Regions from separate parts of the Homo sapiens genome. Here region 2 is linked to region 1. Evidence: promoter capture Hi-C in 16 types of primary human blood cells and fetal thymus (Javierre and others, 2016). All regions are on one chromosome and are shown on one strand. The core of a region is centred on a gene start or on the middle of the fragment in contact, and the rest is flanking DNA. Distances in the headings are between cores, read along the strand shown.

Region 1 (5,387 bases), core at 1,557-4,056:
CTAAAAGGCTCCCCCGCTTCAAGTCTTCCTTAATAATTGTCGATCTCTATTACATTCCTGAGATAGATATAAAATTTTAGAAGCCATTATCTGGGCTGGGCATGGTGGCTCACATCTGTAATCTCAGCACTTTGGAAGGCTAAGGTGGGAGGGTCATCTGAGGTCAGGAGTTTGAGACCAGCCTGACCAACATGGTGAAACCCCATCTGTACTAAAAATATAAAAATTAGCCGAGTATGGTGACAGGCATCTGTCATCCTAGCTATTCTTGAGGCTGAGGCAGGAGAATGGCTTGAACCTGGGAGGCAGAGGTTGCAGTGAGCCAAGATCGCGCCACTGCACTCCAGCCTGGGCAACAAAAGCGAAACTCCATCTCAAAAAATAATAATAATAAATAGAAGCCATTATCTTTCCTATCAGTAATATTTTCAAATATAATTCTTATATAACACTATTTTACATCTCTCCCTAATATTTACATGGCATGTATTAAATGAACCTTTGTCAAGGATGTTAAGACTCAAAGCTTTGGAAGTCAGCACTCAGGCATACCAAAGTGACAGAAAAGTTCTTAGTGCCAGCTTCCAGTTCAGGGGGAAGAAAAGGCTTAGTATGCAAAAGGTATTTCTGAATCCTTTAATAATTCAATCACAGTAATTAAATTTCTACTCTAATAGCTACAGTGAAGGAAAAAAAAAACAAGTTAACAATAAATATCAGGTGATTAGAGAGCTGCACCATGAACCAAGAAGTATTTGATGGAAACTTGGATTACTTTCATTCCTCTTCTCCCACCTCTGCAGGTGAACTGAAATGCTATTATTTTCATTTAATTAAGCTTACTTGGCTGGACCCCAGAGAGATGAAAACAATCACGCTTTTGTGCCCCTGTCAAACCCTATTGGCTTTCTACAGTGCAGCAGGGAGGATGGGGTGTGTTGCCAGTGCCACCCTCTCTAATGTGTGGTCACTCAGGATGACTCTTCCCTTTAATACAACAGTTGGCTTTTGTAGAACCATCCTCTGTGTGGATACAGCACAGCATCTGAACAGAGCTCCTTGGCCCGTTGCTGCTTCTGTTGGAGTGATAGCCACTTGAGATGATCATTTCTTCCTTATGAGTCACACAGTGCTCATGTAACCTGATGCTTTGCTCCATCAATCACAGAAAATCCCTTTTACTCTCTTGCTTCTGCCTCTCCCAGTCTCCTGCAGCTGCTCTCCTAAGGTCATTGATGACCTATGGAAAAATCCAAAGGGCTGATCTGTGCGGATGGCTGTTTGGGATGGAGATGCTCATGGGTTACAGGCACACCATCCACCAGGACCTCCAAACGTGCGTCTTACAAAGCTGTGCTCTCTCTGTCTCCCTGATCACTAATACTACTTTTTGTGTGAGTCTTCTCATTATTTAGTCATCAGCCACAGACTGTGTTGGTCGTCAGTGTTGGGTCTGTGATGTTTTCTTTCTCTCAGCATCTAATTCCATCTAGCTCTCATGATTTCTCAATCTCTGTCACTGTCAAAAGCCAGAAGAGAACAACATGGACTATTGGACTCAGAGCATGCTCTCTTTCTCTGTCACTCTGTAGATAGGTAGATGATAGATGATAAATAGATAGATGACAGATAGATAGATAGATGATTGATAGACGACAGATTGATAGATAAATGATAGATGATATAGATAGATGATAGATCAATAAACAGACAGAAAGAGATTATCCAGCAAACACATCAACCAGCACAAGATGATAGACAAACTCATTGTCTTTCCCCTCCCTCTGCTTACCCTCTGCATCCAGTCAACCAATGTCCAGATGATTTTACTTTGGAAATGGCTCTTGGAATTAAAATTGTGAGCACTTTTAAACCACATTTATTGTTTTTTCTTCATGACAGTTGCCTTTACGTCCTCAATAAATGCAGTATTTACTTCCATTTTTGCATGTGGAAAAGAGCAAACTTCATCAAGTTCACTAGCAAGGGCCTCTATCCAGTCTGCTTGGGTACCAGGGAGGAGGGTTGGCCCAAGCTTACTTACAATCTGATTGGCCCAAGCTTAATACTTCATTGGTACCATTTTGATGAGTGCTCAATGAAGGGATGTGCTTCTAAGGGCAGGCTTAGTGTCCCCTTCTCTGCCTGTCAGGGGCGGGTAAGCTCTGTGGGATTGGCCACCTTATGTTCAGGAGTAGAGAAGGCACAGCTGGTTTATATCCTCAGCCTAAGCTGCTTGCTTCAATCTAGCATTTACTGCAGAGTTCTAGAAACAGATGGAGGAGGATGTCCATCAGTGTTTGCCCAGCTTGATAAAGTAATACCACCTGGTCCATATAGGGAAGTGATAAACCCAACACTCAACCTCTCACATAACCCAGAAGGAAATTCCACTAAACTCTTTGGCATCCAATATGGAACATGAAGACGTGACCTCTAGGCTACAACGAGAAAACCCTAAGGAGAGAAGAGACCCAAATAAAAAGGTGCCAAGATAGGATGAAAGGACACTTCAGACAACAAAAAATAAAAGCGGAGAGTTTATTTCCTCCTCCTTCTCATCATCCCACTTTTACTTATTTTTCATATTTTTATTCTGGTCAAAAGTATCACAATTTTTGTGGAGTATCTAGCCCTTTATTTGCATACTGCAGAGCAAATTTTTCTCTCCAGAGAAACTGACATTTAAGAGAACTAAGAAATGACTGAGTTGATAACTTTTTAGTATTTTTTAATTAGGTAAAACATTCACATGGTATAACATTCATAAGGAACACCACCCTCCCTCACCCCCTCACCCTTGCCCCCACCATAACTCCTCTCCTTAAAGGTGACTGCATTCATTAATGTTTTGTGTTTCCTCCAGTAATTAATTATTCTTTTTCACAGAGCCATACCTTAGAATGCACTTAGGCATCTCCAGAATCCTAAGCAAAGGAGGCAAAGGGAGGGCCATATTGTTAGTTAATGTGGTCATGGGGAGTCTAGCAGAGCCAAAATATATCCATGCCACACCAAGGTGAAGGACTCCAGAGAGAAACTACAAGCCTTATTGAGAAAGTAAGAAGCTACTAGACCTTTGCTGCTGTAGTTATGAATATCTTCATCCTGCAGCCCAGCCTTGCCCAGACCCTGAGCCCAGACAGACCTGCTCCCAAGAGCAGCTGGGCTCTGCAATTACCCTGCAGATAGAAGCTCCAGGTACATCCCTAGGGAGCCAGCCCCTGGGAACTTCAGCCGTGCACTGAGCACTCACCATCCAGAAGACAGGTCTTCTGCTCCATCCTAGGCAGGCACCCTGACATCTGCCTAGCCATCTGGAACCAGCCTTCCCATTGCCTGTGACTGTAGCTATAGCTGCTGGCCATGCAGCCCTAGTTCGTCCCATTTTGTTGGACTGGCTTAGACGGGAGAAAAAAGGCAAACTAAAACACGATAACTCCAGAAAGCAAAGCCAGCAGTTTTCCAGCCTATAATGGCTTAGACCGAAAAGAAAAAATAAAGAAAAGCAAAAGCAAAGAAATGAGAATAAATTTGATTTTTGTCACAGAAGAAGCTTACCTGTCTTGAATTCTGGCTTATTGGTCTAGTATTTCTTAAATTCCAGCCTACTGTTCATGGACCATGTCTTTGTTATGATTTTATCTAGCGCTAGGTGGGGAAAATAGTTAAAATAAAAACAATCCCAGTTTTTTCCTTGCCAAAAAAAGGTCAAATATAAAAATTGGGTCTAGATTCTGGGCAGAATGATGATGCAATGTATTAGTCAGGGTTCTCTACAGGGAGATATATATATATATATATATATATATATACACATATATATATATACACATATATATATATACACATATATATATACACATATATATATACACATATATATATATACACATATATATATACACACACACATACACATATATAGAGATATCGAGATATAGACATCTATGTGTGTGTATATATATAGACATATATATATAGAGAGAGAGAGAGAGGGAGAGGAGTTTACTAAGTATTAACTCACATGATCACAAGATCCCACAATAGGCCGCCTGCAAGCTGAGGAGCAAGGAGAGCCAGTCCAAGTCCCAAAACTGAAAAACTTGGAGTCTGATGTTCAAGGGCAGGATACATCCAGCATGGGAGAAAGATGTAGGCTGGGACGGTGGGAGGGTAGGCCAGCCCAGTCTTTTCACATTTTTCTGCCTGCTTTATATTCTAGCCTCGATGGCAGCTGATTAGATGGTGCTCACCCAGATTAAGGGTAGGTCTGCCTTTCCCAGCCCACCGACTCAAATGTTAATCTCCTTTGGCAACACTCTCACAGAAACACCCAGGATTAATACTTTGCATCCTTCAATCCAATCAAGCTGATACTCAGTATTAACCATCACATTAAAAAAAACAGGCTTAAATTCACATGTCACTGTAGGGACACAGAGTTGGTGCCAGCAGGAAGCTTCCCTAGAAAGTTGTTCATACAAGCCAGGAACTGACATGCCCATCGCTAGCTATATTATGAAGTAATCTGAGATACTTCCACGCAATCAAAAACTTCACAACTATTAAAAAGAATGAGATAAATTTTGTGTGTTGATATGGTTAAGAAGACCCAGATATTGTTAAGCAAAAAAAGCATGATACACAAATGCTTCCATCTCTATTAAAAAAAAATGCGTGTGTGTAAGATATATATATGAAATCCATGATAATTTCCCAAAAAGGTACACAAACAACTACTGGTATTGATTATCTGGACGATGGAACTGAGGAGGAATAGAAAGCAGCCTCATGTCTTACTGTAAATCTTTTTGTACTGTTTAATTTGTGTTCTCCATGCATGAAAGTATTATTTTCATAATAACAATGAAAAAAATGTAGTTAATGAATGCATGCACAAAAAGAAAAAATTCCTGCAACCATATGCAGATTTAAGAAGCTCTAAACTTTGTACTGCTTTCTAGAAAGAATTAAAATAAGTACAAGTGTCCAGAGAGCGAATCAACACACCAGCGAATGTCAGATATCCATAAATAAGTGATTTCATGTTCAGCAGCATGAGATCCATAAAGGTAGCCTTCAAGCATGACTGAGATGTGCGGCTGAGCATCCAGGGGCAAATTGATGGAGAGCATCGTTTTTCTCTAGAGCTGCTATCCTCCTTCCTCAAGGTCAGGCTGACAAGGTGAAATGAAACATTAACATTTAGAAGTGATTTCCCATGGAGGTGGAAGTGCAGAAGTTTAGCTCTTCTGAAACCTTTAACCTTCCTGGAAGGTGTTAATACTGCCAGTATCCCAAGTTCTCAGCAGGTTTTCAAATGATTTTTTCCAGGGCGGACCCTGAGATATAAAACAATGGACTGCAACAGGCCCAGGATACTG
Region 2 (5,387 bases), core at 1,205-3,704, 790 kb before region 1:
ATAATCACATCTATAAAGTCTCTTCCACCTGTAATGGAATATATTCCCAGGTTTGCGCAACTACAATGTAGATACTTTGTGGGGCTGTGATTCTGCCTACCACAGACACTAAGCTTAAAGTGAAACCCACATCTTATTCAAAACTTGGAGGTTTTCCTTCATTTGGCCATTTAAATTTAATTTTTGTTTCTGTCCTCCGTAGTCTTCTATTCTCCAGGCTTCAGAGCTCTCAGCTTACCATTCAATTATCTCCTTTCTCTCCTTATATTCCTTTTTTCATTTTTTAAAAACAATACTTTCAAAGAGCAAAAATTTTAGAATTTGATGAGGTTTATTCTAGTGAAGTTTTTATCGTTTGTACTTTTTGTACCCTAAGGAAGCTTTGTTTACCCCAAGATATAGTTTCTACATTCTCTTAAAAACACTAAAGAGTTCCAGTTTATATGTTTAGCTCTGTGAGATTGGGAGAGGGGAGCTAGATCACTCAGGTCAGGCTTTCGGGATGCCTTTTTCTGTCTCTGGACGTTGCTGGGGTGACCTCACTGACACCCATGGCTTCAGCTACCACATATGCTGATGGCTCCAAGTCTATCTGTGCAGCCCAGACCCCTCCTCATCTCCAGACCCTGGAAGCTGATGCCTTGGGCAGCTCCTCCTATTTCCCAGGCACCAGGAATGTGAGCTTCTCCCTCCCCACAGTCCTGCTGTCCTCAGGGCCCCTATGTCTCTGAAGGCACCACCATCTTCCAAGATACATGGGCCTCCGCAGGGTCTAGGAGTGCCAGACACGTAACCAGAAATCAGATGACATCACTATCTAAATAAAACACCACTACATGGAAATAGAACACCACTACATGGAAATAGAACATGGGAGCCCCTTGAATGTGGCAAGAGCACCCTCCCAGGCATGTTCCACCCTCACCCCGGGCTCATCAGGAGGGTTCTTAAGATGCAGACAGTTTTAAGGGGGTTGGAGGAATAGTTGAGAAGCTGAGATGTTGCACCCACAGCTGAGAATCCCTTTCTAGCACTCTGTGTCCTCACAAATCCCCAGAAATCGTCCTCCCCTGGGGAGTTCTCAAGCCCTTACAGACCTGCCCTCTCTGTGCCATCCTGCATATGCCTCCCTTGAGCTGGGTGTCCCTCTGATGGACGCATCCATTCACTGCCTGTCCCATGGGTTGTGTCCAAAGGTGGAATCTGTTATCAATGTGGATTTCTAATGGGAGTAACTTCCTCCATAAGGGAAGCCTCAGCCTCACCAGCAATGGCAGACATGGCCAGGCATGTAGACACAGAGGTAGTGAGATGGAAAGTGGGCACAGCCCAGAGAGCCTGCCCACCTCATCCTGGGGCGACCAGGACAAGGAAGCATCAGCAATCTTGCGAGCACATGTAGGAGTGACTTTCTGGAGCAGGACGAGCCTCATGGGCATGAGACCATTGTGAGTGCTCAGGGTCTCCCCCTAGAAAGGCACACATTTAATTCTCCATTTTGAAATTTGAAGTAGTGCCCCCACAAATTATGCAGCCCGTTCTGTTCTGGAGGAACCATTCTTATCAGAACTTGGTGCTGGATTGACTTGGAGAAAAGCCTGGCCATAATCTTCAGGATGAAATAAAGGCCTGGATGAATGGATACTTCAGTCTCTATGCAGACTTGCAGAAGACTGGAGCCTTTGGCATTCAGAAGAGGAATTCAGACTGTGCAAGATCTGAGGCCAGGCTCCAGCTCCCCAGGTCCTTTGGTGAGCAGGAGCTCCCTGAACCCACCGTGGGTCCTTGCTAGGGTTGTCTTGCCCATGTGTGCTTTAGACAGCAGCACCTCTTATTCCATGGTGTAGATGGAGAATCCTCAATAAAGCCTTCCCAAGAATATGATCATCACATCTTGAGCTCAGCCTCCCCGGAGCTTTTTTTTATATTGACAGCCACTTCAGAGAGAGTCCTCTTTGAGCTTTACAAGAAATATCCTGGTGTGAAAAAAGACCAAAACCAGATAGCCAGCCTGAACACTCTCTGTTTAGAGAAAGCTGGCTTAGCAATGTTGTATGTCTTTTGGATGTGCTGTGTTATTCACATATGAGAAGAAAGAGTTTCAAGGGTTAGCAAATAGCGTCACATTCAGCAGAGAACATGTGGTTGGGGACTAGGGCAATGGTGACTCCTCAGACCTCAGCTGCAGCCTGATAAATATGGTTAACAGAGTAGAAGGCAGTGACATGAAATGGGTGTCCACAGCCTTGTGTTGGGAATTGAATGAGAAAGAAGAGCTTGAACTTGGATGTTCCCCAGAGGCAGCACAGGGTCAGATGAGCTTTTCAAGATAGGCGTGATTGGTCTTTCCCAGGGTTGGGCCCATAACGAAAGGCAGTTATAGATTAATGGGTAATAAGTAACTGGAGGAGGGCACTTTGTCTTCCAATTACATGCTGATTTGCTAGGTGGCTCAATGACAAGGTAATTAAGGCGAAGGAAACAAATGTAGCAGGCACAGCGTGGGGTGGACAGTCAGCTGTCGGTGGCTTCTGCTGAGATGGCCAGAGGACTCCAGGTTCCCCTGCCGCGGCTGGCCACAGGACTGCTGCTCCTCCTCAGTGTCCAGCCCTGGGCTGAGAGTGGAAAGGTGTTGGTGGTGCCCACTGATGGCAGCCCCTGGCTCAGCATGCGGGAGGCCTTGCGGGAGCTCCATGCCAGAGGCCACCAGGCGGTGGTCCTCACCCCAGAGGTGAATATGCACATCAAAGAAGAGAAATTTTTCACCCTGACAGCCTATGCTGTTCCATGGACCCAGAAGGAATTTGATCGCGTTACGCTGGGCTACACTCAAGGGTTCTTTGAAACAGAACATCTTCTGAAGAGATATTCTAGAAGTATGGCAATTATGAACAATGTATCTTTGGCCCTTCATAGGTGTTGTGTGGAGCTACTGCATAATGAGGCCCTGATCAGGCACCTGAATGCTACTTCCTTTGATGTGGTTTTAACAGACCCCGTTAACCTCTGTGGGGCGGTGCTGGCTAAGTACCTGTCGATTCCTGCTGTGTTTTTTTGGAGGTACATTCCATGTGACTTAGACTTTAAGGGCACACAGTGTCCAAATCCTTCCTCCTATATTCCTAAGTTACTAACGACCAATTCAGACCACATGACATTCCTGCAAAGGGTCAAGAACATGCTCTACCCTCTGGCCCTGTCCTACATTTGCCATACTTTTTCTGCCCCTTATGCAAGTCTTGCCTCTGAGCTTTTTCAGAGAGAGGTGTCAGTGGTGGATCTTGTCAGCTATGCATCCGTGTGGCTGTTCCGAGGGGACTTTGTGATGGACTACCCCAGGCCGATCATGCCCAACATGGTCTTCATTGGGGGCATCAACTGTGCCAACGGGAAGCCACTATCTCAGGTCTGTATTGGTGCCTTCATCCAATCAATGTTCCAGGCAAAACACTTTTTAAAAAATGTATTTACTTACAAGTGCTTCCATATCTACTTATCTTTCCAAAGATTTTATTTTGGCTTCTTTATAACAGATAAACTGTTGAGGGGCCTAGTGTATTTCAAGTTTTCAGTGGTCACTGAGAGGAAGAAGAGGCACGGATGAGGGTCTGTCAGAGGATGGACAAGGACTGCTGTGACTCACGGACAGTGTTTGTAAAGGCACCATCTTCATGGTTGTGCATGTCCTTCAGCTCGGCAGGATCAGGGACACTACATTCAGAACTGATCCATCCTGGGGTTTTTGCTTGCCTGATTTTCAGCTGAACGGTGATGCAACAGTAAATTAGAATTGTGGACATGATAATTTTTAGTGGTCCCATCTTGCGAAAGATACAGAGGTGACCACAGGAGACCTAGGCACTCACAGGAAGTAGAAGTGTCAAAGAGGTTGACTCAGTTGAGTGGAAGTGGGGCTGTGAAGGTGGGATGGATGCATGTGATCAGAGAATGAAACATGGAGTTCAGTTTCCAGAGAGGGATCTGTCCTGAGAAAAGTTTTTCTGACCAGGAGTTGGGGGTCTGGTGTATGATGTGGGGACATCGTAGAGTTTGGAAGGTATGGTGATGGTTGCATGTCAAAAGGGTCTTCTACTTGGAATGCTGAAATTATCAAGAGTGGGTGGAAGGGACTAGGGAGGAGATAAGACCGTGAATCTATAAGCCCAGTGAAGCTGGGACCAGTGATGAATGGACATGTGTCCAAGAAGGGAAGTGTTTCTCAGGTGAAGCTGATCATATCACCAAACTCACCCTATCCCACTCCAAGTTTCTATAGTGGGATCTATTCTTTTTCCAAAAATTTCAGAGGTGACTTTCATTAATACAGAATATTTGGGTTTCATTGAAATAGTACTCTGGGATGTGAAAAACCAAATTCACACACCAATGAATTTGGTTTCTAAATCCATTAAGGGAGCCATCCTTTTTTTTTTTTTTTTCTTGAGACTGAGCCTCGTTCTGTCGCCCAGGCTGGAGGGCAGTGGCCGGATCTCCGCTCACTGCAACCTTCACCTCCCGGGTTTAAGAAATTCTCCCACCTCAGTCTCCTGAGTAACTGGGACTGCAGGCATGTGCCACTGCTCCTGGCAATTTTTTTTTTTTTTTTTTTAGTAGAGATGAGGTTTCGCAATGTTAGCCAGGCTGGTCTTGAACTCCTGACCTCATGTGATCTGCCCGCCTCGGCCTCCCAAAGTGCTGGGATTACAGGCAAGAGCCACCAAGCCCAGTGAGGGAGCCATCTTTCTTGTGAGAGAATTGAGCCCTTTTTTGTCATATTCACTGAATTTATATGAACTTCCATGAGTTTAGGTCCTTTGTATTCTTATTTCTGTACTTCTTTTTATTAGTGTAGGTATTATTGCAAAGGACACTAAACTTTATTTTTGTTTTTGATCAAACCACAAGATATTTGTTCTACTGGTTTTCTTTTCCCCTTATGCAATGTAGTTACTGAATTGTAAAAAATATATATGTTCTTTAGCTTTGTAAAAATGTGGAAAATTAGGAAGGCATTTGAATAGTGATTGTGGCTCTTTTCTTGTGGTTTTTCACTATGAATATATTCTTTAGACTGAACTGCACTGGCTCAAATCTTCACTCTCATTTTTCTAGCTATGTGACCTAGGACAGGTACCCTAAGCATTGTGGTTTTAATGTTGTTATAGTGAGCACCCAATAAATATTATCTGTTATCATTCTTATTATTTTAGTTTAATTGCATTTATTTTATGCTGAATTTCTTCCAGAGCCATAGGTAAATTTTTTCTTCAGTTTCTTCTGGGATATCTTTTTCTTCTGTGCAACCTCATCCTCAGGTTTAGGAACAATTTGTTCCTTATCAGTAAAGATCATCTTGAATGTGGCAGTGGGGGGTCATGTAAGGGTTA

The links. The method cuts DNA at HindIII sites, captures the fragments that hold promoters and counts their contacts. A CHiCAGO score of 5 or more calls a contact.
Region 2: a contact is called between the fragment with the promoter of UGT1A4 here and a fragment that was not itself captured in region 1, in 1 of 17 cell types (naive CD4 T cells). The highest score is 5.5, in naive CD4 T cells.

The regions. Positions count from the first base shown.
Region 1 is chr2:234,501,636-234,507,022 of GRCh38, forward strand. No RefSeq gene overlaps it. Among named protein-coding and RNA genes, the nearest start is that of ARL4C, 7.2 kb to the left of the region's middle. The HindIII fragment of the contact is 1,495 bases long and covers 2,060-3,554 here.
Region 2 is chr2:233,716,282-233,721,668 of GRCh38, forward strand. It overlaps UGT1A4 (UDP glucuronosyltransferase family 1 member A4), which reads left to right and starts at 2,455. Exons shown (of 5, transcript NM_007120.3): 1 at 2,455-3,406. The coding sequence starts at 2,540. All of the region lies in intron 1 of UGT1A8 (UDP glucuronosyltransferase family 1 member A8), which reads left to right. All of the region lies in intron 1 of UGT1A10 (UDP glucuronosyltransferase family 1 member A10), which reads left to right. The region is part of intron 1 of UGT1A9 (UDP glucuronosyltransferase family 1 member A9); the gene reads left to right. It also overlaps UGT1A7, UGT1A6, UGT1A5, UGT1A and the pseudogene RPL17P11. The HindIII fragment of the contact is 5,069 bases long and covers 379-5,387 here.